4 separate regions of the Homo sapiens genome follow, and all the other regions are linked to region 2. The links are contacts of gene promoters, found by promoter capture Hi-C in blood cells and fetal thymus (Javierre and others, 2016). All regions are on one chromosome and are shown on one strand. Each heading gives the region's core, a stretch centred on a gene start or on the middle of the fragment in contact. The rest is flanking DNA. Distances are from core to core; before and after follow the strand shown.

What was found. Contacts are between HindIII fragments. The CHiCAGO score rates a contact against its expected background, and 5 or more counts as called.
Region 1: a contact is called between a fragment that was not itself captured here and the fragment with the promoter of MAGEH1 in region 2, in 1 of 17 cell types (fetal thymus). The highest score is 6.3, in fetal thymus.
Region 3: a fragment that was not itself captured here is called in contact with the fragment with the promoter of MAGEH1 in region 2 in 1 of 17 cell types (fetal thymus); the score reaches 7.4 in fetal thymus.
Region 4: a fragment that was not itself captured here is called in contact with the fragment with the promoter of MAGEH1 in region 2 in 1 of 17 cell types (fetal thymus); the score reaches 9.9 in fetal thymus.

What each region holds. Positions count from the first base shown.
Region 1 is chrX:56,796,133-56,803,592 of GRCh38, reverse strand. The region is part of intron 2 of NBDY (negative regulator of P-body association); the gene reads right to left. Among named protein-coding and RNA genes, the nearest start is that of NBDY, 71 kb to the right of the region's middle. RefSeq lists enhancers at 11-150, 2,650-2,719. The HindIII fragment of the contact is 4,293 bases long and covers 2,451-6,743 here.
Region 2 is chrX:55,450,748-55,458,247 of GRCh38, reverse strand. It overlaps MAGEH1 (MAGE family member H1), which reads right to left and starts at 6,121. Exons shown (of 1, transcript NM_014061.5): 1 at 4,682-6,121. The coding sequence starts at 5,873. The coding sequence ends at 5,214. It overlaps MIR4536-2 (microRNA 4536-2), which reads right to left and starts at 6,753; the gene lies at 6,666-6,753. It overlaps MIR4536-1 (microRNA 4536-1), which reads left to right and starts at 6,666; the gene lies at 6,666-6,753. RefSeq lists enhancers at 5,659-5,708, 5,859-5,908. The HindIII fragment of the contact is 1,343 bases long and covers 5,898-7,240 here.
Region 3 is chrX:53,678,354-53,685,931 of GRCh38, reverse strand. HUWE1 (HECT, UBA and WWE domain containing E3 ubiquitin protein ligase 1) reads left to right here. Exons shown (of 84, transcript NM_031407.7): 3 at 5,746-5,883. Among named protein-coding and RNA genes, the nearest start is that of HUWE1, 4.6 kb to the left of the region's middle. The HindIII fragment of the contact is 1,705 bases long and covers 1,036-2,740 here.
Region 4 is chrX:56,760,695-56,768,074 of GRCh38, reverse strand. All of the region lies in intron 2 of NBDY (negative regulator of P-body association), which reads right to left. Among named protein-coding and RNA genes, the nearest start is that of NBDY, 35 kb to the right of the region's middle. RefSeq lists enhancers at 186-485, 3,459-3,818, 3,814-4,315, 4,279-4,398, 4,419-4,468 and 1 more. The HindIII fragment of the contact is 2,994 bases long and covers 2,619-5,612 here.

The DNA.
Region 1 (7,460 bases), core at 3,348-5,847, 1.3 Mb before region 2:
GAAGTGTGCCTGCCATTTGGACCCCACGGAGAAGCAGCTAATCTAGAGGCCCAGGGACAGAGCAGCCAGGCAGCCCCAAGACCAGTCAGTCCAGAGTGCGGAGGTGCCCTGGCAGCCATCTTGAGGTGGGCTTAAGGGAAGCCACTGACTACTGACGGCCGAGACTGGGGTCGTTTACACTGGTCTCTTTTGTGGGGAGTTCTGGGGTGCCCTTGCCTGGAATCACGCTGGGGCCAGAGGTCCCCTATCCTCCCAGTGAACCAAGGAGCTGTGGGGTGCTGTGGGCGGGACGACTCCTGCCCGGCAATTCCTGGAGATGGCCAGGGGAACCCATGGAGGGCCGCCCCTTCCTGCCCTTTTTTCGGAGAGGGCTGTGGAGCCCGGGTGCCATCCTGGTAATGAGCAAGGGCAAAGGGCCAGCCAGGAGTTCCTCTCTCGTCCAGCTTCAGCCTGGGGGCCCCACACCGCCACCATCTCTTTCGTGCTCCTGGGATTTCTCCAGCACTCATGCCCAGCTGCCTCCAGTTTCCAGAAACAGATTCCGCTCGATGGCACTATGGCTCTACAAAGGCCAACTACAAGCTTAACCCTGCCCCTCCAATCCGACGGCCTCCACCCTTTCCAATGTGAAAAAAAGAAAAGGGAAAGAGAAACAAAAAAAAGACAGGGAGGATAAAAAGGAGCCAGCCACCTGGTCTCAGGTTGACCACCAAACTTAAGGGACCCTACGACCTAGGACCAGTAGGCAGGAGACACTGCGGAAATCCTCTTTATGCCGCCAGCCTTTGCTTTTCCTTTGGCCCTCTCCAGGTTTCATGGCTCATGCTCATGCAGAAAAATAGAAGACAAATGATACATAATCATGGCCACTGGGAAACCACAGGAAGACTGGGATCATGGGGCTGCCGCCCCAGGACAAGGTGCTGGTCACCCAGCTGAATTACCCAAGGTTTTGCTGCAGGACTGGTGGTTCTCCCAAAGCCTGGAGCTCCAGATAGAGTTTACCACCTTGGGCTGGCACATGGAGGTCACCAAAATGAGCGAACAGCTCAACAGGCAGTCACAGGGCGTGTGGCAGGAATCTCCCTCAGAGGGGATACTCAGCAACTGACTGAAGTCTGACTCTGTGCAGGCTGTCCTGGCTTTCACATGGGGTGGGGGGGAGGGGTGACATGAGGGTGGCTTAGGGGAACTGGGGAAGGCCACCACGCAACACAGATTCCCATGGCATCACAGAGGGCCAAGGGTCCCAAGGGGACTGTCTGCCTCTACCCAAGGTGTGGTCCCTTTTTAAGCAGGTTGACCCAGGAGGCTCCAGTTTCACACTGGCTGCTGGGGCTTATCTGATAACAGACTTCCCGCATTCATTCTCAGGAGAAGGCCTTAGGTGCCCAATCAACAGCATAATGACCCAGGCCTGGAGCCAGGAATCCTCACCCATAGCCCATTGCCTGTGGCCGACTGAGAGCCTTTATGGGAGAGTTCGTGGGCAGTCTGGTGGCTATGGCGACACATGTGTGTGTGCGTCTGTGTGGGTGAATGCTTGAGCCCGCACCCCTGGGCCTGTGTGAGGATTTGTGTGTGTGTGTGTGTGTGTGTGTGTGTGTGTGTGTGTCTATGAGTTTGTGAGTGTGCATGTGTTAGTGTATGTCTTTGTGTCTGTGTGTGTATCTCCCTGTGCATGTGTGTTTGTGATTATATTTGTGGTTGTCGGGGTTTCCCTGTGAGTCCATGTGGTTGTGTCTGTGTCTGTGGTCTCTGGGTGCCTGCCTGTGTGAGTGAGAGTGGGCAAATGGGCACGTGGGAGAGACAGCCTGCCTATACACACTGAAATCTGGATCGTTGTGTTCACATGGCTGGATTGAAAGAAAAGACAAAGGGGGACAACTTGCCAAGGCTCCTGCTGGCTCAGGATTACACATTTAGAGCATCCACAAAGAGAATGGGAAAGAATGGTGAGCCATGAGGAACAGGTTAAGGGGTGGGTTCATGGTGACATTTCATGAAAAGTAACACATTGGCGCCTTTGTGGAACACCAGAGGGACTGAACTGGTGACCTTCATATCTGCTCCTTTAAGAACAAATGAGGCCTTTCTCACTTTTGTTCTGCAAAGGGGCATCCTGCATCACCAGGAGCAGAGGAAGAAGCAGTCTCAGTATAATGCTTGACCCGCCAAGAGCCAAAAGTGAAAGGAAAAAGAGAAGAAAGAAGAGAAAAATGAGAAGGAGAAGGAGAAGGAGTAGAAGAAAAAGAAAAAGAAAAAAGAGGAGGAGGAGGAAGAGGAAGAAGAACCAGAAAGACAATAAGAACAAGAAGTGGCAGCTTCACGCCACAGCAGCTGTCCTGAAGGACCTAGTTCAGGGGTGCCTCACTGCATGGTGGCATACACAACAAGAGGCAAAGAGAAACCTGTGATGTCCCGGTGAAAGGACACAACACCAAGAAGCTTCTTGTTGATGGGTTCTTTTCCGAGTGGTATCAAGGGCTTTGATCTACAAGTAGGCCTAGAGAAGCTACAGAGGACAGAGGTGCAGGCTGAGCCATGCCCTCCAGATGTCATCAGCGCACTGCAAGGGGCCACGGGCTTCTAATCTACAAGGCCTGGGTAGGGAAGTACCCCGGAAATGGGTGGGAGGAGAGATGTAAAACGGGGAGGAAATGGATACCAGAGAAAGGAGGTAATGAGCCACCTATGGCAACACTGACAGAAGGCAGATAGGGGAGGGGGATGCTGCTTACACCCCCAGGGTTCAGCCCGGGTCCTTCTGATTTCCTTAGGAAAAGTAGGCTTACTCTCCCTAAGGACATTCCTGTGCCCACCCGACCCTGCTTTTGCAGGCTGATCCTGAACTCCCTAAACCAGAAATTGATGAAAAGTAAAGAGTGAAGAAGAAAAAAGTGAAGGAAGAAAAACTCCAAAAGTACACAAAGAATCAGGGTGAGCAATGAGGTTGAGAGTGAACTGAAATGCAGGATATCCCAGGTGGAAAGGTGGCTGCCCAAATGGCCTCTTGTGCCTTCGTACAAGAAGAGTCACCTACCAGAGAAAAGCATCAGACCCTTAGGCCAGGGTTTGTACTGGGTCCACACAGAGGCCAGTGGAGCCAAGAGACTGCGCTGCTCCACACTGCCCCCACCCCCACACCATCCCACACACTCCACCAGCAAATACTGGGAAGCCAGACAGAAAGGGAGAACAAAAATGAATAAGAGAAAACCGGGAAGCTGAAGAACCCTTCCCATTGAGAGTTACCTAGATGTGGGGATCTGAGTGTGAGCACAGGTGCCTGGGCAGACACCTTTTAGTGAGTATTGGTGGGGATGCATGTATGTGCCTGAGAACATATAGAAGCACAGATGAAGACAGGAAAAAAGTTAGATGAGATGGGAGTTAAATATTACAAATGAGGATTTCTGACACTCAAAGTCACCTTGCCACCCCTAAGGACACAGTCCAGATCTTCCTGCATTCTTTTCTTCCTATGTTTTCCCTAGGCAGGCACCAGTCTCCTTCTGAGGAGACCTGTGCAGATTCATAGAAGAATCTGCAGCGGCCCACACACAGGCCTAAACACCCACACACCCCTCCCCCTTTACCCCCTCACACTGCCCCCGGTGCTACAAATCCACAGCAAAAGCATAGCATTTCTTGAGGATAGGCTCCTCTGGATTACTGGGACCCCCTGCCCAGAGAAGAATCCAGAGGGTAGGAGAGGCAGACATCACTCCTACTGTTGCAAGTTTCCCCAAAGTAACCACATAGGTGGGGAGCCCTGTTGAAGATGAGGTGGGTGCTGCTTGGGCAGTTTCTTTGTTTCTTTGTTTTTTTTGTGTGTGTTTGTTTTGTTTGGTTGGCAGCAAAAGGAAGGAGAGAAAGGCAAAGTGGAGGAAGGAAAAGGGGTGATTGCCATTTGTGGAGTCACAGTGCCATCCGGCGGAAGGTGTTTCTTGACAACAGACTACAAGGACACTTGCCTTCTTCCAGTCACAGATATCAGCGAGGATGTGCCAGGCTGGGTAGACTAGGCCCAAGCCAGGGTTTCCCCCACTGGGGTTCAGAGCCCTTAAGGAAGTGTACCTGCCATTGGAACTCCATGAAGAAGCAGCTAAGCTAGAGGCCCGGGGACAGAACAGTCTGGCAGCCCCAAGACCAGTCAGCCCAGTGGGCGGAGCTTCCCCATCTTGAAATGGGTTTAAGAGAAACCACTGTTCACTGACTGCCGAGACTGGGGCCATTTGCTCTGGTCTCTTTTGTGGAGAGTTCAGGGGTGCCCTTGGCTGGGGCCACGCAGGGACAGGGGCACCCTATCCTCCCTGGGAACAAAGAAGTTTTGGGATGCTGGGGTGGGGCAACTCATGCCAAGCAGTCTCTGGGGGCTGCCAGGGGAACCCATGGTGGGCCGCCCCTGCCTGTCCATTCTTACAAAGAGAGCTGTGGAGCCAGGGCGCTATCCTGGGAATGAGCATAGACCATGGGCCAGACAGGAGTTCCTCTCCCAGCTTCAGCCTGGGGGCTCCACACCACCATCTGTCTGGCACTCCCGAGCGTTCCTCAGCACATGAGCTCAGGTGCCTCCCATTTCCAGAAACAATTTCCACTTGATGGCACTATGGCTCCACAAACGCCAAGTACAGTTGTAACCCTGCTCCTCCACCCTGAGGGCCTCCACCTTTTCCAATGTGAAAAAAGCAAATAGGAAGGAGAACGAGAAAAAGACAGGAGGGAGAGAAAGGAACGAGCCAACTGGTCCCAGGTTGACCACCAAAACTCACAGGTCCCAATGACCAAGGACCAGTAGGCTGGAGACCCTGCAGGAATACTGTTTAGGCAGCCAGTCTTTGCCCTTCTTTGGCCTTCTCCAGGTTTCATGTCTCCTGCTCCTGCAGAAAGTAAAAGACAAATGACAGATAATCATGGGCACTGGGACACAAGAGGCTTGGGATTAAAGGGCTGCCGTTCCAAGACAAGGTGCTGGTCACTCAGCTGGCTTACACAAGGTTTTACTGCAGGACTAGGAGTCCTCCCAAAGGCTCTAGGTAGTTTACCGCCTTGGGCTGGCAGATGGAGGTCACCAGAACGGGCAGACTGCTCAACAGGGAGCCACAGGACCTGAGGCAGGTGTATCCCTTAGAAAGCACACTCAGCAACTCGTGCAAGTCTGACTCTGCACAGGCTGTCCTGGCTTTCACACAGGCAGGGGTGGGAGGATGTGGCTTAGGGGGACTCAAAAAGGCCACCACGTTGCCACAGATTCCCATGACATCACAAAGGGCTAAGGATCCCAACAGGACTCTCTCTGCCTCTATCTGAAAGGGGAGTCTGTTTTTAAGCGGGTTGACCCAGGATGCTCCAGTTTCACATCTGCTGCTGTGGCCTTTCTGATAAAAGATTGCCCGCATTCATTTTTGGGAGAAAGCCAAGTTGCCCAATCAATGGCATGAGGACCCAGGCCTGAAGCCAGGAATGCTTGCCCATAGCCCATTGCTTGTCAGAGATTAAGAGCCCGTATGAGACAGTGTGGGCAGTCTCATGCCTGTGGCTTTGTGTGTTTGTTTACCTCTAAGTGTGAGAATGCTTGAGCCCCAACCCCTGTGCCCATGTGAGGTTACCTGTTTATTGGTCTGGTTGTGTATGTGTGACTTTATGTGTCAGTGTGCCTGCGTGTGTGTGTCTGCATGTGTGTTTGTGTCTGCATCTGCATGTATCTCCATGTGTGTATGGGTTTTGTAATTTCATTTCTGGTTGTGGGGTTTCTTGTGAGTGTGTGCATGTGTTCTGTGTCTGTGGTCTGTGAGTTCCTGCTTGTGTGAGTGAGAGTGGGCAAATTGGCACATGGCAGAGACAGCCTGACTGTACACACTGAAATCCGTATCGTTTTGTTCACCTGGCCTGACTGGAAGGAAAGGCAATAGGGGAACAATGTAACAAATTGCTGAGGCTCCTACTGACTCAGGTTTACACATTTAGAGAGTCCACAAGGAGAACAGGAAAGAATGGTGGGCTATAAGGTACTAGGTACAGGGTGTGTTTACCATGACATTTCACTTAAAAGTAACACGAGGACAGCTTTTTGGTGGAAAAGAAGGACTGAACTGGTGACCTTCATCGCTGTTCTTTTAAGAAGAAAAGTGAAGCATTTCTTGAGGCCTAGAGCTGCAGAAGGACATTCCCCATCACCAAGGAGAAGAAGAAGCAATCTGCTAGAACATTTGCATGCAGAAATCCAAAAGTGAAAAAAAAAGGAAAGAAAGAAGAACAAGTAGAAGAAGAAGGAGAAGAAAAGTAGAAAAAAAGATGTAGAAGGAGAAATAGAAAAGAAGGAGAGAAAGAAAAAGAAGGCAAAAAGAGAAGTCAAAGAAGAAAAGAAGAAGGAGAAGGAGGAGGAAAAGGAAAGAAGGAGAGAAGAAGAGGAAGAGGAAGAAGAAGAAGGAGAAGGAGGGAAGGGGAAGAAGAGGAAGAAGAAGAAGAAAGAAGAAGAGGGAAAGAAAAAGAAGAAGAAGGAGAGGGAGTTGGAGGAGGAGGAGGAGGAAAGGAGGAAAAGAACAATAAAGAAGAGGAGCAGGAGTAGGAAAAGGAAGAAGAAACAGAAGGAGAAAAAGAATAGGAAGTGGGAGGTCCATGACACTGTAGCTCTCCTGAAGGATCTAGTTCAGGGGGACCTGAATGTGTGATGACATACACAACGAGTGGCAGGGAGCCACCGGTCATGTCCCACTTAAAGGACACACAACCGAGAAGCTTCTTGTCAATGAGATCTTTCCTGAGTGGGATCAAAAGCTTTGATCCACAAATAGTCCTGCAGGAGCTACAGAAGACACAGGTGTAGGCTGAACAGTGCCCTGAGGATGTCATCAGCAGACTGCAAGGAACCACTGAGCCCCAAGCCTACAAGGCCAAGGCAGGGAAGGACCCCCAAAAAGAGAGGAAGATGAAAAACGGGGAGGAAATATATATCAGGGAAAAGAGATAATCAGCCACAAATGGCAATATGGAGAGAGGGCAGAAAGGAAAGGGAAATGCCAATCACTCCTTGCAGGGATCAGCTGGGGTCCTTCTAATTTCCTTAGGAAAAATAAGTTTGTTTTCCCTAAGGGTGTTCCCTAGCCCAGTTGACCCTGACTTCCAGGCTGATCCTGACCTCCCCAAACAAAAGTGAATGAAAAGTAAAAAGAGTAAAGAAGAAAAAAGTGAAGGGAGAAAACCTCCAAAACTACACAAAGAATCAGAGTGAGCAATGAAGTTGAGAGTGAACTGGAATGCAGAGTGCTCCAGGTGGGCAGCTGGCAGCCCAAGTGGCCTCCTGTGGGCTCACAGAGAGGGAGCCATCAGCCAGGAGAAAGAGTCAGTCCCATAATCCCAGATCTCCACCACATCCGCACAGAGGCCTGTTAGGCCAGGGGGCTGCCCTGCTCCCCGCTGCCCCCACCCCAACCCCATCCTGAACATTATGCCAACAA
Region 2 (7,500 bases), core at 4,872-7,371:
CCACGCTGGCCTCTCTGCCATTTCTCAAACGTGGTAGTCACTCCCTGGCCTTAGAGCGTTTGCACCAGCTGGACCTTCTGCCCGGACAGTACTTTCTTTATATATCCGCAAGGCAAACCCTCTCACCTTCTTCATTTCTTTCCTCCAATGTCACCCCTCCAATGAAGCCTACCTGTGTACCCTTGCATATGGCAGTGAATGCTCTACTCCCTTTCTCTTCTCCCATTCTCAACGACCCGAATGCACCCTACCCTGCTGTGTGTTAGCTTACCACCACCACCACCACCACCTGCCCCACCCAAAGTGATTGTCTCCTTCTACCCTTCTATATAATTAGTAATGTAAAAGGTTTGCATTTTATTTTCTGTTTCCTTGCTCTTGTATGTACCATTCACGAGGGCCAGGGTGCTTGAGATTTGTTCACCTATGAATCCCAGTTGACTAGACTGGCACGTAGTAGACCTTAATAAGCACTCGTTGAAAGAGTGAATGGATGAATCATTGGATAATCACAACATGCAAAATAATATAGGCTACATTATTATTGAGACTACACAGGCCTCCGTGGTCCAAGTTACAGGAGGAATCTCAACCACTTCTCATGCGTTGCACATGTGGAGATAACATTGGCAACACTGGTGTCATTTGCCACAGGAACTGGGGCGGAAGTCGACCAGTCAAGAACTGGGCCTGATTTTCACTATCTGTGTATAGACTCTGCCTTCCCCTCCAAATCACCCTTGTGAGCTTTGCAAGCCTGTTGCATGATGAGCAGTGCAAGCCTAGAGCCCACTTCTCCTCCAGTCTCTGAGCCCCAGATTACTCCAGTTATTCTTCTATGTAGTCTTGGCTGAGCTGAGCCCCTCCTTTGACAAAGTGCCCTCACAGGGATTTTCAAAGAAATTCCATCTGCTCTTTGACATTTAACTGTTCCATGGCTCACGAGCCCTGGAGGAATCTGTGTACAGGTCTCAGCACATCTTCGTAAGAATCACCCTTCTCCACCTCCACCACGACTCCAAAATAATTTCCTCCAGAAGGCCAGAATTCTACCTTTCTGCCAAAGAAAAGAGTCGGGGGGATCCTGCCCGCTACCCACCTCACAGGAGCCAACGTGAGCCCAGGCCGAATCCAAATCTCCCTTTGGTCATGGCCATTGTCTGCTCTGCACTTGCCTGCTGGGGCCAAGGCCGCAACACTGGGCCCAAGGAGGATGCCCTGGAACCTGTCTTTTTTTCATGGGCAGATGCCCACTGTTTGCTGTCTGTCAGCATCTTATCCCGGTTGCTCTGCTCAAGGGAAGAGGTCTGCCAGTATCTTCTGCATTGGCAACAGTATCGGAGCAATGTCACAGGCTCAGAAACATTGTTGTTTGCTTGGTCCACCGTGGGAAAGCCAGGACCTAGGATTTTGAGGACTGATGGAGGGTGCTGGGTAGTTAAGTTTCTGGGGAATGTGTCGTGATGGGGAAGTCCACTTGTCTTGGAAGGAAATGCTCACTCCACACATATGATCCCTCAAAGATGCCTGGCAATAGGGCCCCAGCCCTTCCAAATAAAGGGACAGACTGCCACAGCTAATCCTGAAAGTGCAGATTAATTTTATTTTCCCACACCTCCTCACCTGACCCCGGCATGTTCCCTGTCACTCCTACCCTGCCATGTGTCCAAGTTTGAAAACAGAAGACTTTCCCAGCCCCAGCTGTCCTGGAGATGGAGTCTTTCCCTGTAGCATAGCAGCATGGGCTTCAGACTTGGCAGGCCCTGGGTCCACCTGCAAGGCTGCCAGTGACCAGCCAGCTGATCCTGGCAACTTGCTTGTGAGATCTGAGTTGGGGTTTTCTCCTCTGTAAACTCGGCCTGGCCTGGTGGCATCTCCCTTGCAGGACTACTGCAAAGTTAGAGACAATGCATGAAAACAGCAATCAAAGTGCCTGGAACAATTTAGGCACTCGGTAAATGCCAGCTGCCAAGTTTGCTAGGCTTTGGGCAGCTTGGGGCTCTCTATCCTTGAGTTATCCTAACAACTGGAGTGTTCTAGGACCCAGAAACTCAATCGCTTTTCAGAGGCATCCTTGCACCTAAAACTGCAGCTTTCCCACTTGCTTTGTGGAACCTCCGCTGGGGTGGGGCCAGTTTAGGTTTCAGATTTACTCAGCAAGAGGCTTGCACCTGGATGTCTCATCTGGATGCCCCGCAAAGCTCAAAGAATTTTTGTAAATGGCACGGTGAATGTTTTCTTTTTCTCTCCACCTTCCAGAAGCCCCTTTCCCTGCCTCTCCCTCACCCCTGTCTTTCATTTCACAGCCACCGGAAGTCCCGCCCTTCTTCAGCCTTTATCTAATCAAAGGAAGTTTAACTCTTTGCAGTACTCCTGTAGTGTGTTAGGGAGACTGAACCCCCAGGCCACAAGAGAATAAGCCTGGCCCATTGATCGCTTCCTTCTTGCGCTAGGGCAGGTCACCTGTCACCCAATCCCTTGTTTCCCAATCCCCTGCAGAGCCTCCTGCCTGAGGCCTTCAGGATTCCAGCAGTCATCTCTCTGACAGGGCAGCTGGAGGTATTCTCCCAGTCTTTCTCCTCTTATACTGCTGGTTCTCTGACTGAATTAAGCTTCTTGGCCCGTACTTGCAAAGAACCATTTTAGACCATTGGATGATAACTTGCCACCAGAGCCGAAGAAAGCATGGATTCAGACAGGGTTGGGGAAGACATTACCTCTTCCCCTGAGCTAGCCGGAGGAGCATCCTGTTAAATGGGCAGTAATCACACCGGCCTGGCAGAGATAATATGTGGCATGCCTCTGGGACAGGCAGGTGCTCAACAAATCTTTTTACTCTGCAGCTCTCCCACTTACTAGCTGACTGACCTGGGGCTGACTGACTGCTGTAAGCCCCCTTGGGTAAAAGGGCGGGTCGGGGGAGGAATGTAATCCGGCCTGGTCCCCAGAAGGATTGGATGCCGCGGCCAGGGTTACTCACACCTCTTCCCCTGCCTTCACGTGGTGTTTCTTTTGAGGACAGAGACCTTGAGAGTGCACTAGCAGGCAGAGACCGGCAGCAGGGTGGCCTAGAGGAAAGCACTGTGGGTTTGCAGGGAATGGACATAGGGTCTTGTCTAGGATCTCTCTCTTGCCACTTCTGTGGCTCTAGAAGAGAAAGTCACCGAGGAACCTGGACCTCAGATTCCCACCTTGTTTACCTCTGGAGGTGGTATTGATAAATACAGCTCCTCCCAGGGCAAAGAACAGGCCTTTTGATTTTCTGCAGCTCCAGTTTCTAACACACTGTCTGAATCCCAGAAGGCGCTCACCATTTTCTGGCTTGCTGAATGAATTTGGAGCTGCTGATGGGGTCATAGTTACTACTTTTGTTTGAAGCCTCCTTGGCCTGCAAGCTGAGGAGAGTGGGTCCCTGGGCCTTCTCCAGAAGGTCATTTGCTAGCCTACCCTGCACCTAGTGACGTTACTTTGCACACAGCTGGAAGCAGCGTGAGCCTGGATGTCAAGAAGGAAGAAGGTAGCCTGACCACTCTTTTGTGTGTTATAGCTGCTACCATGAGCCCCACAGGGCTAGGTTGGGCACTTGTCACTAGTGCTCCCCAGCAGGGGACCTAGTTCATGCAGTGCTTAGCTCTTGGAGAAAAGGTGGTAGGATTTGCGCCTGATCCCACATGACTTAGTATAGCATGGGCCATCGTGCCAGGTACCAATCCGGACTTACTCCATTGCCCCTTTGCCCCCTTGGACACACACACTTTTAAACAATGTGTGCACCCTAACGAACCATAGTTCCTGAGAGAAGTGCAAGGTTACCTTTCGGAGATGCCACAGGTGGAGCCTTTTCTCTGGCTCATCCAGTATCTCAGAAGTTCTGCTTTTTTATAGCCTTTTCTCGAATTATTTCAGGGTTGTTATTATTAACCATTTTTATTGTCATTAGTTTAAAGTCAGCCACAACACCCACCCTTTGAGGGTCTGCCCCGCTCACTTCTTCCCTTGCCTCATTCCTTGTTCTCCACTTTCCCCTTCATATAACCTTAACAGTTCGGTGAAGAGTTTATTTCCAAATGTCCACGCTACCTTCAGTGCCTCCATTTTTACTCCCTCCCCTTCTTCTCTATTATTTCCAAACCTCAGATTGTCCCCTCACCAAGATTTTCTGACGGTCTCATCTTTTTTTATTTCTGAAGTACCCCATGACAACCTTTTCCCCTGCAACCACCCCTTCTCTCTGCCCTCCTCCTCTCAAGATGATTTTTGTGTATTTTCTACTTCCGTGGCAGGCACCCTGTGATGTCCTCTTCTTTTTGCCAGTGCTCCCTCCCCTATGCTGGGTGGAGTATCCAATCAAATATCTAATACATAATATTTTCATCATATATTCTGATCGTATATTTCAGTCCCCCCCAAACTTATTTAAGTGTCTCTTGAATTTTCACACATCCTATGGTGCTCCCTTCCCCGGCCCACTCCCCAAGACAGGTCACATAAGGTTTTTTACATTTTCATGGCACTTCAGGCTCGTTCTCTATCCCAGCATTTACTGCACTGCCAGTTTACCTATTTTTCTTTCCCACATAATCTAGAACATTCTTTGGACCTGGAGGATGTGTACTAGGGAGTATCCCTAGAATCTAGACTGGTGCCTCACATAACAGGTGGTCAGAAAATGCGCAAGATGTACTATTCGTTAGGCTTTTATTTTTCTCTATGTTCTGCAGTAACTAAGGAAAATCATGGTAAATGTCAATCTTCACACAACAGCAGACACAAAGGGTTTCAGAAACGTCAGATATGAAGAAATCCTCCATCCTTCTTCAACATTTTACTGGGTATTTCAACTTCAAAAGAACAGCTTATTTCTATAAGTGCTGTACAAGATCATAGATTATGATGGAACGACTTCATTTTAGAACGTTAGCAAAACTGTTATACTAAATGTCAATGACAGGAAACAAAGAAAAAAATTTGTTCAATTATATTTTTAAACATATTGTTATTCTCAACAAACGGAATTTTAAAACGAATACAATTTTCCATTATCAAAAGCAAACACTCTATTTCGCAGTTGAACAATGATCACTGATCACAAATATCAAATACAGTGTCCCCCGCCCCCAATCGACATCATTTTCAACTTAGGACCCTGGCATCTACTCCTTGGGGTACCTGTGACTCTCTTTTACACCCCCAAGGGTCTGCCTCAGATCTACTTAAGGGGCGGAATAACCCCTAGCACCTGAATTGAGGATAGCCTCAACCTCTGCATCATCGTCCGAATCCCAGTCATAATTACAAGGCCAGTCTTTAGAGCATCGGTTACGAACCCTTGCCACAAAATGCATGACTTTCAGTTTGCTCGATTCCACGTGTGCTCGGGGCCCCCAGAAGAACTCATACTCCACCGGACTGCTACGGGGCACCGGTTTATAAATCAGGTACCCTCTGCGCACAAACTCTTCTGTGACGATCTTCTTCGGATCTCCAAAGATGCTGTGCTGACGTCCAGGCTGCATTCCTAACTTCCCCAGCACTTTCCAGACCAGAGCTTCCTTGGCGCTGTTGCCCATGATGAAGATGAGCGCTAATATAGACATCAGGAGACTTTTCTTGGTGCCCTGAAAATTGCTCCGGGGCACTGAAGGCTTTTGTGCTTGGGCAGTGCTCGAGGCTTCTTCAGGGGTGGTAGAGGCCTCCTCTGGAGTGCTCGGGTCTTCCTCGGGGCCGCTCAGGTCGTCTTCGGGGGTGCTCGCTACCACAGAGGCGGCCATAGGGGTCTCGGAGGCCTCTGAGGCCTGGATTTTGCGATTGTTGCGGTTCTCTTCTGCGGCTCTCGCATTACGGCGGCGCCGACTCTTTCGTCCCCGAGGCATGTCTCCTGCTAGAGGCTCAAAGCTTACAGCAGTCCTAGGGAAGGATGCTTGTAGCCTCTTCAGGAAGCAACAGCTTTATACCGTAAGAAGCTGCTGCCGCTGAAGCTACCAATGTCAATAGAGTCTTTGTAGCAATAAACAAGCCGTTCTCAGCTACAAAGGGTAGTTCCCACGCCAGCTGACTTGCGCGAGCAGCCGCCGCCAGCACTTGCCGCAGCTGCAAGCCCGCGAGAAAGCTCAGCAAAATTGGCCCCGCCTCTCCTGCCACGCACACTCCTAGCACCAAAGAGGAAGTAGGCTGGTCCTCCACAGGGACTTCCGCTAGCAGATAGGAAAAGGGGCAGGCAGCGACAGGGGTGGGACAAGGGCAGAAATGACAGCTAGAGATTGGAGGGGCCTGGAGTTTGCAGAAGAGAAAAAAATAGCTTAAAGTTTCTGTATTTTCAGCCTACTACAAACATTCCAAGATTGGCTCGACGGTCTAGGGAAGGAGTGCGTCGGCTCCATTCCCACTGACGACGGGCTGTGTGTGTGTTGGGGGTTGGGAGGCCAGGGGTGGCGGGAGGGTGTATTCTTGGAAGGAGTCAGCTGTCTCCAGCCTTCCTTTCCTGTCTTGGCTTACACAGCGCGTTCATTCACTCGCCCTGTTTTCAGAAGGCATTTGTGTGTATACTAATCAATTTGTGGTCCCATGTAGGACCCGGATAATATTGTTATGGCAGATGTGCTGGATGATGTGAGGAGATGGGACTGCAGAAACAAGCAGGGTGAAAGAGGTGCAGAGCCTTTAAAATGTGGTAGATATATGCACGATATATATACTGCCCTGCTTTTATACATACATACATACATACCTATATCGTGCATATATCTACCACATTATGTTTATATACAGTGCATATATCTACCACACATATATGTATGTATGTATGTATGAAAGCAGGGCAGTGACAGGATCAGAGGAATTGCATTTGTGCAGCCTCTCAGAAAAGCAAACTGTTTCCTGGCAGACCACATAGGAAGCAATTGGAATAAGAAGCACTGGGAACTAAAGTATGCCTTAAGGCTGTTGCCATGGGGATGGAGAGGCAGAAAGACATTTTAAAGGTGACCGTTGAAGGGCTTTGCAGACAGAATGGATGAAGTGGGGAATGTGGAGGGGATGATGGAGTTCAGATTGGCTCCAAGGTTTCTAGGCTCCAGTCTTCCTGGACTCCTGATTTATTTTGCTTCTTTCAGAGCATACTCTGAACTTTATCCACTGCTTGCTTTTGCTCACTGTTTGCTCTGCCTGACCTGTCTTCTCAGCCTTCTCCAACTATCTAAATTCCATTTGACTGCTCACAGACCTGTTTCTCCCTGAAGCTTGTCTTGATCTGCCCAAAAGGGTAATGAGTCCATTTTTACTCCATTGAGGAAAGCCCTATAACTAGCACTCTATATCTTTCTTATGTCATTCAAGGTATTAGTTTAAGCAAGTCACTTCTCTCTAAGCCTGTTTTCCCATCTATAAAGTGGGGCTAAAGTACAGCCCTCATAGGGTTGTGAGAATTAAATGAGATAAAAAATGAAAAGCATTTATTACATGGTAAGCACAGATTTTGCCTCTCAAGGTTTTCCAAGCGGT
Region 3 (7,578 bases), core at 639-3,138, 1.8 Mb after region 2:
TATACATTAGCTTGTTTCTCTGTTGGGGGAGGGAGGGGACTATTACAAGCAATGCCATAATGAATGGGTTTGTGTATATGTATCATGCCATGTATGAGTATTTCTGTAGGAGAAATTCTTAGAAGAGTAACCGCTGGGTCAGGGTGTATATGCATTTTGAATTTTGATAGATTTGTCCAAATTGCCTTCCCAAAAGCCTGTACTAATTTACACTCTTTAATGTTGTGCGAGAGTGCCTATTTTTCCACAGTTATGCCAACACGTATTATCAATCTTTGTAATTTTAGCCAATTTAAAGGGCAAAAAAATCGTATGTCATTGTTTTCATTTGCATTTCCCTGATTACTGGCGAAATTGATCATATTTTTGTTTGTAAATAGGCAAATATCAATAGTTTATATAGGCAGTTTTCCTATCTATAAGCAATAAGCATTTTGAAATTTTAATAATAAAAAACCTGTTCGCAATAGCAAGAGAAACGAATAAAAATACCTAGAAGTAAACTATAAAACTTTATTGACGAATACCATAAAAGAACATCTGCATGAAAAGAGAAGGAATACTATGCTTCTGAATAAGAAGGCTCAATATTTTAGTGATGTCCATTTTTCCTATATTGGTTTATACAGTTGATGCAATTTCAATAAATATACCAAGTTTTTTTGGAACTTACTATGATTCTAAAGTTCATCCGGGGGAAAAAAATGGCTAAGAATAACTGAAAAAAAATATTTTAAAACGTAAGTAAAGATAGGGATATTTGTACTACTGGCTATTAAAATGTACTCTAAAGGAACTATTTAAATTAGAACGGACAGAACAATGCATTAGAATGGAAAAGCCCACAAATCAAGCCAGATTGGATCCCAAGATTTATTGGAGAAACACTGTTGGCTAGACGTGGAAAAACTGCCATATTAAAAGCTTCAGGCATTTCCCCCCATCCCCGAAGCTTGAATATTCCTTTGAGGGCAGACTCCTTTGTTTGGAGAAAACCACTTTATTGGATCTTTTTGGTTATGCCAAGGTAAAGCTTCAGTAGTTAAAATTGGTGGCTTTGGAACTAGAACTAATGATATGGCCTTTAGTTAGATTAAGATGGATTCAGGTTAGCCTGCAGTGCGGCGAGGGAAGGAGTCTGGATAATGTAGGTTTAAAAATTTTTTTCCCTATCTAATGGGCAAAAAATGTTATGTCATTGTTTTCATTTGCATTTGTGTGCTTACTGTGAGATTGAACGTCTTTTAAATGTTAGTCCAGGATAATATGTTATTCCTGGAGACAGGTAACAATGGGGGACTCTTTGCTCCGCTTCCAGAATGGAGTTTGGCTAATTGGTACAGCCTTGCCCGGAAGCGTGAGAATAAACAGGTTGACTTTTTAAATTTTCCTCAAGCACTAGGCTCTAGACACCTAGATCGGGGGCGGAGGCAGTTTTCAGGACATGGCCGAGATTTGGCGCTGAGCTGTGTCATCGCGAGGTTTGGCAGCCAGCTCCGCAGTGGGTCGGAAACCTCGTGGTAGGCGAGATCCCTGCAGGACGGGAGGGTTCCTCCCTTCCCCCGAAAAACTCCCAGTCATTTTCATGAAGCTCCGCCTTTCTCCTTTTTAGGAGTGTGCACCAGGTCTCGCGATATCTCATGTTTCCTAAAGGCGAGGCGCGGGCGGCATCCTGCGGTGAATTAAGAAGGTCTCGCCGAGGCTAAAGCGTAATATCGCGATAGTTCTCAACGCATGCGGGAGCCGGCCGTGGTAGGTTGGCTCCGCCCCTCACTGCTTCGTTAGGTTGTGCGTCATTTGCTTTTCGCTTCGCGTAGGGTGAAGCTGTAGCTACTTCGGCTTTGGTGGGAGGGAGGAGGGGTCTGGAAAGGGCTGGGCTCAGGCTTTTCCCGTCCGGTAGAGGTTCTCGCGGGATCGCGCGGAGGCGGCGGTGGCTCGGTTACTGACTGCAGTAGCCGCGGAGGCGGCGGCAAGGTCTTCGGCTCGTGCCGTTCTAAGCCGGAGAATTCTCGCGGGAGCAGGGTTACGTCCTCGTGGGATTCGTTGGCGGTGGCTGAGGTAGCTCGCGGGTGGGGGGTGGGGGGGCAGTGACTAGGGTCGGTCCGCCTGCTGTTAAGATGGCGGCGGAGGCTGATGTCTGTCCGGCCAGGACCCAGCACAGAGGTGTTGGCTATCTGCCTTTATGACGCCTCTGAGGTGCCCAGCGTTAAGGAGGTGACGATTGGCGAAACGCCGGGGTGCCGGTAAACTAGACCTGAGGCGAAGACCACCTCGTTTCTTGTCCGTTGAGGCGACACCATTTCCTGGGCCTCGGCCGCGTGTGGGCCCGCCTTTGCCCCACCGATCGGTCAACGCCTCCGTTGTCGCCGCCGCAGTGGGCGGATTGGGAAGGGTGGGAGGGGAGTCTGGAGTTCGCTGGGGAGTGGGGTTGGGGGTTAAATTGAACGGTGGGAAAGAGGAGCAACCAATGAAGAGTGGCCCCTTTCCCCTACCTTTTCTGCCGGCCAACCTCCGTTCTCAGCACCTCCGACGACCCGGATGAATACCCTGGTTTTTCTCGAGGTGGGGTCATCTTCGCCAACTCTCGCGGTTTTAGAGCTAAGGCTTAGGGTTCAAGCAGTAGTGTCACTGGTGTACTCCTCCTCCTCTCCCCACACCCCTCCTAATTCTGTCGTCCCATCTAATCTTCATCTACGTGGATAGTTGAGGCTGGTATTTAAGGGAGGGGGGAGTCAAAGCTTTTCCCTGTGACTCCTTCCCCAGTTCTAAATTCGAGTTTAGCCTAAGTCCTCTAGCCCGCTCTGTCTCCCCCTTCCATTGGTCCCCTTGGCGCAGGCGTTGAATAGAGCTTATCCTGTTGCCTGCATTTACTCCATCTTTGTGGATGGTGCCATAGTAGCCTTCCATTTCCTCAAGTCTTCATGTTTGTATGACTCTGATCCGGATTTCTTAGCTCTGCATGCTGCTAAACCACTATTAAGCGAAACTATGAACGGGTCGGTGTTTGGATATTGCAGTTTAAGTGGCCTTTTCGTTTACGGCCATTAGCCTTGCCTTCCTCATTCCTCCCCCTCAGAAGGCTGTAGAGGATAACTCTCCAGTAAACCCGCTTTCTGTCTTCCCTGCCTCTTCCATTTCCCCTGCAAGCCTGGGAACCGCCCCTTTTCCCTGCCTTGCTCTGAGTTTCTGGAGCCTCTTGGTCTGTGGACATCTATTTTTGCTGCTGAGCACCTCTTACCTGCTTCTCACTTCTTAATCTTTCTATCCCCCACTCCCCATACTCCTTTTCCAGGAGCTGAATCCCTTAGAAGGAAGATAACCCTCCTCTCAGGCTCCACTACATTTTACCCCTTCCATTTACTAGAAAACAGCATTGATTGTCCTGCCCCCCAGTCTGCCCTGTTCTTTATTTCCTCTTCCCCCCATGCCACCGTTACTATAGGCAGTTAATTCCCTATCATTTGTTTCTCCTTTGTAGATTACATGTTCAGCATTGTTTTCTTTTAGCCCCAGTGTTGCATAGATTGAGGAGATACCAACATTCCCCAGTCATAGGCGGCGGTCTGGTATGGTGAAATTAATAGTGTGTGTTTTGGGTGTGTTTTGGGTTCACATTGAACCTTGTGACCTTGGGCAAATTTTCAGATTCTCAGTTCATCTATATAATGGGAATAGTTGTGCTTACATTAGAGGATTGTTGCTAGAATTAGTTAAAATAAAATAAAATAAAATGTTTAGCTCATGGTAGGCACATAATAAATTAGGATTACTTTTTGGTGTAAGAATGCATTGGTAGATGTACCTGTGTCATATGCTAATTTTATGACCTGGGAAAGAGTAAGAGATTTTTGTTTCTTTAACTGTACATTCTTGGTGTATTTCTAGGCCAGATCTATAACGTTTATATTTTTTTTCCTCATAGGCCAAACTTTTTATCTCCAGTGGTTCATGATGTTTGAACGTGATTCCCACTCTTTGTTTCCTTCTAATGGTCTAGGAATTTCAGTGCGTAATCACTATCCTGGAATGACCACCAGCCATAATGTTCCTGTCAAGAACCACACCCAAGTGTTCTACCTTTTGGAAGGGGTGCCTCATGCCCTGCCTACTCATTTCTTCCACTCCTTCAAAGGCAGTCTGTCCTGTCATTCACTCTACAAAAGTAATTTGGTGTCATGCATTTCACAGTGGTAAAAGGAACTTCTGTTAGCTAGTTTTGAAGTATTCATGCTACTTTTCACCTCCCTCATTTGTTTGGTTCCTCAGATCAGTGTGGGGATCTGCTATTTGGCATCTTCTTACCTGAGCAAGATAATTCCTGTCCGAGAGAGAAAGATCATTTGGAATACCCAGCTTCTTTTCCATAGCAAATTACTGCTGGCTCTTTAATACACTACTTCCTGTTGTGTTATTGCCATTTTATATTTTCTAACGTACTTATTAAACAGATGTGACTATTTGACTTGGAGAAAGTTTTCCTTACTTTTTTTTTTTTTTTTTTAAGATGGAGTCTTGCTCTCGCCAGGCTGGAGTGCAGTGGCGCGATCTCGGCTCACTGCAACCTCCGCCTCCTGGGTTCAAGCGATTTACCTGCCTCAGCCTCCCGAGTAGCTGGGACTACAGGCGCGCGCCACCATGCCCAGCTAATTTTTGTATTTTTAGTAAAGACGGAGTTTCACCACGTTGGCCAGGATGGTCTCGATCTCCTGACCTCGTGATCCGCCCGCCTCGGCCTCCCAAAGTGCTGAGATTACAGGCTTCCTTACTGTTAATATATTGATTAGACCAATATTAAAGTGTAGCATTTTACAATTTTTTTTTTAACTAATTCTAGCAACAACCCTTTAATACAAGCACAACTATCCCCATTATTTTACTTCGGCTGGGTGATGGGAATTGAAGTAGAAACGTGGTGAAAAGTTTACTAGGATTTAAAATTTACAGGAGGTAACCATCCCACAATTAGCTGTATGTGGACTCTAGTTTCGAACTTCAGTTCGAAATAAACTGCTTTATTTAATTTGAAGTGCTTTGTAGGTAATAAAATTTTCTTCCATTTTCATTGGAGGGCAGGAAATCACTTTCTGTTTTGAGATTTTGCATTGGTGCATTTTACCGTGGGTTAAGCAGTGATCACAAATTTATTAAACCTCAATTTCAATTTGACCCTTATTGAGCAATAGAATAAATCTGGGAATGATAATCTAGGTGTGACCTAAAAGTTTAACTTATTCTAGGTAGATCTCTGAGAAGAGAGGAAGGAGTGACAATACCAAATAAAAACTTTGTCTAAGGTTCAATGGCAAAGTTCAACCTGAGTTGCCAGGATGTTTATCGTTTGTCTCCCAATATGGCCAAAAAGCATGTATGAAGGTGAAGAATAATTTTTATATGTACAGTTGTTGTTTTTTTTCACAGAAACAATGAAACAAATACGTCCTTAGTGTTTATATTGAGGGTATAAACTTGTCTAAAAAATAAACTGTCTTCTATAATTTCATTTGGGTTGAGAACTCAGTTTTCAGGAATGTTGTCTAAGCGTTAGAAGTATTAGAGTTGTTGGTTCTGAATTCCTCAGTTACTTCTCAAAGCAGGTCCTAAAAAATGCAAATAGATATGTAAGGACTATTGCTTTAGAAATAATAACTAGTTATGTTTGAACATAATAGAATGGTTAACCCTCCTCACACACCCTAATAAATGTGTTGTGTATCTCACTCCTCTCCCCCAACTTTTTTTTTGTAGGTCCTCCAGCAGCCTGACCTGAGTGGGTTAGTGATCCAGAGAAACCAGCAGGCCAACTTGGTCAGGAAGGTTCGGGAAGCTGTTGGAGCAGTGTGGGGAATTTCCCACCAGGATGAGTATGATTGGCTGTGATTTTAGGTTAGTTTTTGTAAATCTTGTGGGAAGTATTTGTATTTTACTTCCTGGAATGGAGATAGTAGGGGTGGATGTATTCCCATTCTGTAATGGAGCTACTTTGGTTTCTTCCATTCTCTGGATCTGATGTGGTACTGGTTGCTTCTTTTTTTAAAGTGGAGCTCATTACTGAATTAAAGGGAATTGTTTAAATGAATGATGTCTGTACATGATTTTTTAAATCACCCTAGGCATCGTTCAAAAAATAAAATTGCAAGTCATTATGTCTAACCAGTTCTTATTAAAGTTACGAAAAATTTCAAACATGCAAACATTGAATAGTATAATAATCCCCCCACTTACCCATCACCAGCTTTAATAGTATCAACTTGCACATTCTATTTCATCTATACTTCTGTTTGTTTGGTTTTTTTTAATTTTTTTAAATTGAGATGGGGTTTCATCGTGTTGCCTAGACTGGTCACAAACTCCTGGGCTCAAGCCATCCTCCCTTCTTGGCCTCCCAAAGTGTTGGGATTACAGGCGTGAGCCACCAGGCCCAGCCTGTTTCATCTATACTTCTAACCACTGCCCCCCTCAATGGATTATATTGGAATAAATCCCTGTCATATTTATTTGTAAAATACTTGTTTGTATTTCTAAAAGGCAAGGGCTCTTTAAATATAAGATCAAAACTATTATCACAACTGAAAAAATTAACAGATATTTAAAAATATCAAATATAAAATGTTCAGATTTCTGATTTTTTTTTAAGCTTTGTTTTTTTTCTTTTACAGTTTGTTTGAATCAGGATCCTGAGAAAGCACATTTATTGCAAAGCATTGATACAGCTGTTAAATCTATTTTAATCTGCAGGTTCTGTCTTTTGTTTTTTTTTTCTTCCAATTTATTTGTTGAAGAAATTGTCCTATATATAGTTTCCCGCCCCCCATATTTGGGGATTACAGCCCAGTAGTGGTGTCTAACCCATTCTTGCTCAATTAAAGACCCTGGAGGACCCATTATAATGGAACAATGGCTATAATCTCCTGTATCCTAGTTGGAGTTGATAGTGCTGTCATAGGCACTATCCTAAAATAACTAGTCATGGATTCCTTTTTCTGTGGCAAAGTCTGATTTGATACCTGACTTCAGTTCCATGTCTTGGCCTTGCTCATTGCTCCACATGAAAAGTAGGCCTCCTGGTGGAAGAAGCTAGTGTTTCCTAATGACCTGATTGTGCCTTTGGGGTTTTTCATGCATGGTTTCAATTTCCTTAGGTGATTTAGTTATTTTTATACTACTTTATAATGTTGCTTTTTATTCTTTTGATGTTAGTGTCTCAGCTGTTCTGACCCATAACTTCTAAGCTATTAAGACCTAATAATGAGTTCCTGGCTGTCATACAGTTCTTGAAATGGCAATACTAAAACAGTTTTTGAGAGCTTCTACTTACATGTTGATTTTCAGCTATTATACACAACCTTAGTTTTCCTACTGTGATTTTTCATTTCATTTCATCTGAAATTTATGTTTCCTTAGCATAAAGTCCTTTAAGGACTTTTAGGCTGCTTTATGATGATCTCACTATCTATAAGGTTGATATTCATAAGTACTTGGGCTTTTGGTGTTTTGCTGTATTATTCGTTGTTTCCTCAACGACTGGTTACTAGATGTTTATATATGTTAATGTCAGGAATAACTCAACTTTTAAGTCGT
Region 4 (7,380 bases), core at 2,866-5,365, 1.3 Mb before region 2:
GAGTGCTGAGTGTGGGGCGACCCATGCCTGGCAGTTCCTGGAGACTGCCAGGGGAAGCCATGGCGGGCCGCCCCGCCTGCCCGTTCTTACATACAGCTGCGGAGCCAGGGCGCCATCCTGGGAATGAGCCCAGGCCAAGGGCCAGCGAGGAGTTCCTCTCTCGTCTCGCTTCAGTCTGGGGTCCCACACCACCCTCCCTTTTGGGCTCCTGGCCTTTCCCCAGTACTTGTGCCCTACAGCCTCCGGTTTCCAGAAACGGTTTCCGCTTGATGGCAGTATGGCACCACAAATGCCAAGTACAACCACAACCCTGCCCCTCCAATCCGAGGGCCTCCGCCCTTTCTCGTGTGAAAAAAGCAAAGAGGAAGGAGAAAACATAATTATAAAAGAAAGTTAAGGAGAAGAGATAGGCGAGAAGTGGAGCACAGTAGCTGCTGGCCCAGTTGCTAAGCCCCTCACTGCCCTGGGCAGGCAGGTCCAACTGGCTGCTCGGAGTGCGGGGCCCGCCGAGCTCATGCCGACCGGCAACTCCCGGTGGCCCGCAAGCGCGGCGAGTAGCTCGTGTTACCGCCCGCGGCTCTCCCTCCACACCTCCCCGCAAGCTGAGGGAGCCGGCTCCGACCTTGGCCAGTGGAGACAGGGGCTCCCACAGTGTAGCGGCGGGCTGAGGGGCTCCTCAAGGGCGGCCAGAGTGGACGCCAATGCCGAGGGGGCGCCGAGAGCGAGCGAGGGCTGCCAGGGCTGCCATCAGACTTTCACCTCTTAAGGGGACCCTAGGATCAAGGATCAGTAGGCTGGAGACCTTGTCGGAACGCTGTGGAGGCAGCAAGCCTTTGACTTTCCTTTGGACCTCTCCAGGTTTCATCGCTTTCGCTGGTGTAGAAAGTAAAAGAGAAAGGACGTATAATCATGGCTACTGGAAAACGGCAGAAGGACTGGGATCACAGGGCTGCCGCCCAAGTACAAGGCAGTGGCCACCCAGCTGGCTTACACAAGGTTTTGCTGGAGAATTGGGGGTCCTCCCAAAGCCTGGAGTTGCAGTTAGAGTTTACCACCTTGGGATGGCACATGGAGGTCCGAAGAACGGATAGACAGCTCAACAGGCAGCCACAGGGCCTGAGGCAGGAGTCTCCCTCAGCGGGGACATTCAGCAACTCACTCAAGACTGACTCTGCTCAGGCTGTCTCGGCTTTCACAGAGGTAGGGTTGGGAGGAGGGTGGCTCAGAGAGGCTGGGGAAGGCCACCAAGTACCACAGCTTCTCATGGCATCACACAGGGACAAGGCTTGGGGGCCCTTTTTAAGCAGCTTGACCCAGGATGCTCCAGTTTCATGCCTGCTGCTTGAGCCTATCTGATAACAGACTTCCCGAATTCATTCTCAGGAGAAGGCCCTAGTTGCCCAATAAATGGCATAATGACTCAGGCCTGGAGGCAGGAATGCTCCTCTGTCTCCCTTTCCCCTTTGCATATTTCGAACCCCTGTCGAAGAGAATGTGGGCAGTCGCATGCCTGTGGCGATGTGTGTTTGTGTCCCATAATGCTTGGGCCCCTACCCCTTTGATTTTGTGAGCTTACTTTATGTGTGTGTATGTGTGTGTTTGTGTGGGTATGTGTAAGCGTGTTTTTGTCTGGGTGTGCATGTATCTCTGTGTGTGTGTTTGTGATTTTATTTCTTCTTCTGGGGGTCTCTTGTAAGTGCCTGCATGTGTGTCTGTGTGTGCCTCCCTGTGTGAGTGAGAGTGGGCAAATGAACACGTGGCAGAGACACCCTGCCTGCACACACTGAAATGTGAGCAAATGAACACGTGGCAGAGACACCCTGCCTGCACACACTGAAATTCAGATTGATGTGTTCACATGGCTTGACTGGAAAAAAAGGAGTTAGGAAACAACTTGCCAAGGCTCCTACTGGCTCAGGATTACACTTACAGCATCCAGAAGGAGAATGGGAAATAACAATGAGCCATGAGGTATTGGGTAAAGGGTGCGTTCACCATGACATTTCACTTAAAAGTAACACGTGGGTAGCCTTTTGGTGGACCAGAGGGACTAAACTCATGACCTTCATCTGTGCTCCTTAAAGAACGAATGTGAAGCTTTCTCCAGGCCTAATTCTGCAGAGGGACATCCCACATCACCAAGGAGCAAAAGAAGAAGCAGTCTGCTAGAACACGTGCCCACCCAGATCCGCAAGTGAAAGGAAAAACAGAAGCAGAATCAGAAGCAGAAGCAAAAGCAAAAAAAGAAAAAGAGGCAAAGGAGAAGGAAGTGCAGGGGGAGGGGGAGGAGGAGTAGAAGGAGGAAAAAGAAGAAAAAGAAAAAGGAGGAGTAGGAAGATAAGAAGGAGTTGGAGGAGGAGGAGCAAGAGGAGAAGGAGGAGAAGGAGAAGAATTAAAGAAGAGGGGTAGGAGGAGGAAGAGGAAGAAGAATCAGAAGGAGAACAGGAAGTGAGAGGTCCATGCCACTGTAGCTGTCCCGAAGGATCTAGTTTAGGAGGGCCTCAACGCGTGGTGACATACAACGAGGGGCACGGAGCCACTTCTGACATCCGGCTTAAAGGACACACAACCAGGAAGCGTCTTGTTGATGGGGTATTTCCTGAGTAAGATCAAAAGCTTTGATCCACAAGTAGGCCTGCAGAAGCTACAGAGAACACAGGTGCTGGCTGAACCTTGCCCTGAAGATGTCATCAGCTGACTGCAAGGGGCTACCAAGCCCCAAGGCTACAAGGCCAAGGCAGGGAAGGACCGCCCAAAAAAGAATAAGATGAAAAACGGGGAGGAATTGGACACCAGGGAAAAGAGATAATCAGCCACCCACTGCAATATGGAGACAGGGCAGAAAGGAGAGGGAAACGCCAATTTCTCCTCGCAGGGGTCAGCTAGAGTCCTACTAATTTCCTTAGGAAAAGTAAGCCTGTTTTCCCTAACGGTGTCCCCGCGCCCAGCTGACCCTGCCTTCCAGTCTGCTCCTGGAGCAGAAGTGGAGAAAAAGTAAAGAGAATGAAGAAGAAAAAAGTGAAGGGAGAAAAACTCCAAAAGTACACAAAGAATCAGTGAGCAATGAGATTGACAGCGAACTGCAATGCAAAGTGCCTCAGATGGACAGCTGGCAGCACTATGAGTGGCCTCTTGTGGCCTCACAGAGGAAGAGCCACCAGCCAGGAGAAAGCATCAGCCCCTCAAGCCCGGGTCTGCACCGCGTGGGCACAGAGGCCTGTTGGGCCAGGAAGCTGCCCTGCTCCCTGTGGCCCCCACCCCTACCCCATCCTACTGTTGCCGGTTCCCCCAAAGTGACCACATAGATGGGAAGCCCTGCTGTAGGTGAGATGGGTGCTCCTAGGCCAGTTTCTTTTTTTTTTTTTTTTTTTTGGTGTTTGTTTTGGTTTTTGGCACCAAAAACAGAAAGAGGGAAAGAAAATGGGGGAAGGGAAAGACAAGACTGCTGTTTGTGGAGCCACATTGCCATCTAGTGGAAGTTGTTTCTGAACACAACAGGATGCACGGACACCTGCCTTCTGCCAGGAACAGAGATCAGCGAGGATGTGCTTAGACTATGTCTAAGCCTGGGTTTCCCCCACCGGGGTTCTGAGCCCTTGAAGGAAGTGTACCTGGCATTGGGACGCTTTGGAGAAGCAACTACTCTAGAGGCCCCAGGACAGAACAGCCAGGCAGCCCCAAGACCAGTCAGCCCAGAGGGCGGAGCTGGCCCGGCAGCCATGTTGAGATGGACATAAACGAAGCCACTGGCCGAGACGGGGGCCGTTTACTCTGGTGTCTTTTGTGGGGAGTTCCGGGGTTCCCTTGGCTGGAGCCACGTGTTGGCAAGGGGGCCCCGATCCTCCCGGGGAACAAAGGAGCTTCGGGATACTGGAGACGTGGCAACCCAGGACCAGCAGTACCTGGAGATGACCAGGGGAACCCATGGTGGGTCGCCCCTACCTGCCCTTTTTTTCGGAGAGAGCTGTGGAACCAGGGAGGCATCCTGGGAATGAGCACAGGCCAAGGGCCAGCTTGGAGTTCCTCTCTTGTCCTGCTTCAGCCTGGGGGCTCCATGCCGCCATCTCTTTTGCGCTCGTGGGGTTTCCCCAGCACTTGTGCCCAGCTGCCTCCGGTTTCTAGATACAGTTTCCGCTTGATGGCAGTATGGCTCCACAAACGCCAACTACAACTGTAACCCTGCCACTTCAACTCCAGGGCCTCCGCCTTTTCCCATGTGAAAAAAGGTAAAGAGGAAAGAGAAACAAAAAAAAAGACAGAGGAGTGAAAGGAATCAGTCACCTGGTCCCAGATTGATCACCAAACTCATGGGACCGTGTGACCAAGGACCAGGACCAGTAGGCTGGAGATCCTGTGGGAATCCTGTTTAGGGAGCCAGCCTTTGCCCTTCCTTTGGCTCTCTGCAGGTTTCATGGCTCTTGCCCGTGCAGAAAGTAAACAACAAAAAACATGATCATTACTGGGACACCACAGGAGGACTAGGATCATAGGGCTACTGCCCCAGGACAAGGTGCTGGTCACCCAGCTGGCTTACACAAGGTTCTGCTGCAGGACTGGGGGTCCTACGAAAGCCTGGAGCTCCAGGTAGAGTTTACCGCCTTGGGCTGACACATGGAGGTCATCAAAATAGGTGGACTGCTCAACTGGAAACCACAGGGCCTGAAGCAGGAGTATCTCTCAGAGAGGACACTCAGCAACTTGCTCAAGTCTGACTCTGCTCAGGCTGTCCTGGGTTTCACACAGATGGGGGTGGGAGGAGGGTGGCTCAGGGGTGCTGGGGAATGCCACCACACACCACAGATTCTTATGGCATCACACAGGGCCAAGGCTCCCAAGGGAACTCTCTCTGTCTCTAACACAAAGTGAGGTTCCTTTTTAAGCAGCTTGACCCAGGATGCTCCAGTTTTACACCAGCTGCTGGATCCTATCTGTTAACAGACTTCCCACATTGATTCTCAGGAGAAGGCGAGAGTTGCCCATCAATCAATGGCATGATGGCCCAGGCCTGGAGTCAGGAATTCTCCCCTGTCTCCTGTTCCCTTTGCACATTTAGAACCTGTGTGGGAGAAATTGTAGGCAGTCTCGTGCCTGTGGTGGTGTGTATGTGTCTGTGTGGGAGAATGCTTGGGCCTGCACCCCTGTGCCCCTGTGAGGTTTCTTGTTTGTGTGTCTATGTGTGTGTTTGTGTGTGTCTGCATGTGTCTCTGTGTGCGGGTGTGTTTGTGATTTCATTTCTGAGGTCCCTAGTGAGTGTGTGTATGTGTATCTGTGTCTATGGTTTGTGGGTGCCTTCCTGTGTGAGAGTGGGTAAACTGGCACATGGCAGAGACAGCCTGCCTGTATACACTGAAATCCGGATAGTTGTGTTCACATGGCTTGACTGGAAGGAGAGGAAATGGGGGAAAACTTGCTGAGGCTCCTACTGGCCAAGATTACATTATTAGATCGTCTTCAAGGAGAACAAGGTAGAAGGATGAATCGTGAGGTACTGGTAGGAAGTGCATTCAGAATGACATTTCACTTAAAAGTAACACATGGGTGGTTTTTTAGAGGACCAGAGGAACTGAACATGTGACCTTCATCTCTGCTCCTTTCAGAACAAAAGTGAAGCTTTCTCCTTGCCTAGCACGCAGAGGGACATCCCCCATTACCAAGGAGCAGAAGAAGCAGTCTCCATAGAACATTTGTCTCGCCAAGATCTGAAAGTGAAAGGAAAAGAGAGAGGAGGAGGAGGAGGAGGGAAGAAAAGAAGAAGAAAAAGGAGGAGGAGGTGGAAAGAAAGAAAGAAAAGAAAAGAAAAGAGAAAGAAAGAGGAAGAGGAGGAAGAGGAAGAAGAACCAGATGGAGAAAAAGAACAAGAAATGGCAGCTTCATGCCACCTCAGCTGTCCTGAAGGATAGAGTTCATGGGTGCCTCAATGCGTGGTGACATACATAACGAGTGACAAAGAGACAACAGTGACATCCCAGTGAAAGGACACACCACCAAGAAGCTTCTTGTTGATGGGATCCCTTGTGAGTCGGATCAAAAGCTTTGATCCACAAATAGGTCTGCAGGGGCTACAGAGGACAAAGATGCAGGCTAAACCATACCCTCTGGATGTCATCTGCAAACCGCAAGGGGCCACGAGCCCCTAGTCTACAAGGCCAATGAAGGGTAGGACCCCAGAAATGGGAGGAGAGAGGAAAAACGGAGAGGAAAAGGACACCAGGGAAAGGAGGTAATCAGCCACCTATGGCACTAGGGAGAGAGGGCAGAAAGGAGAGGGGCACCCCGATTACATCTGGCAGGAGTCAACTGAGGTCTTTCTAATTTCCTGAGGAAAAGAAGGCGTGTTCTCCCTAAATATGTTCGCTTGCCAACCGGACCCTGCCTTCCAGGCGAATCCTGACCTCCCCAAACCAGAAGTGGACGAGAAGTAAAGACAGTGAAGAAGAAAAAAGTGAAGGAAGAAAAACTCCAAAAGTATACTAAGAATCAACGTGAGCAATGAGGATGACAGCGAACAAGAATGCAGAATGTCCCAGATGGACAGGTGGCAACCCGAGTGACCTTCTGTGGCTTCACAGAGGAAGAGCCACCAACCAGCCAGGAGAAAGTGTCAGCCCCTTATGCCCAGGTCTGCACTGCATGTGCACAGAGGCCTGTTGGGCCAGGAGGCTGCCCTGCTCCCTGCTGTCTCCACCCCCAACACATCCCGCACCCTCCGCCAGCAAATATTGGGCAGCCAGACAACAAGGGATGAGGAAGATGAACAAGATGGAACCGGGAAGCTGAAGAACCCTGCCCTCTGAGAGTTGCCTGCACAACAGGACCCAGGTATGAGTGGAGGTGCCTGGGCAGACGCTTGTGAGTGAGTATGAGTAGGGACACATATATGTGCCTGAGGACATTTGGAAGCACAGGTGAAGACAGGAAAAAGTTGAGATGTGATGGGAGTTAAACGTTAAAAACGGAGACCTCTGACAATCAGAGTCACAATGCCACCCCTAAGGATGCAGTCCAGATCTTCCTGCATTCTTATCTTCCTGCTTTTTCTCTAGGCACGCGCCAGTCTCCTTCTTAGGAGGCCTATGCAGATTCATAGAGAAATCTGCAGTGGCTGGAATGCAGACCTACACACCCACACACCCGCCACCCTGTAGCCCCTCACACCTTCCCCAGTGCAACCTCCCCACATCATGCCACAGCCCCAAGGGTGGGATTTCTTGAGGATAGGCTGGTTCATTGGGACCCCCTGCACAAAGAAGAATCCAGAGGGAAGGAGGAAGGCAAGTTTCCCCAAAGTGACCATGTAGGTGAGGAGCAATGCTGAAGATGAGGTGGGTGCTCTTTGGCCGGTTTGTTTCTTTGTTTTTTTTATTTTGTTTTGTTTGTTTG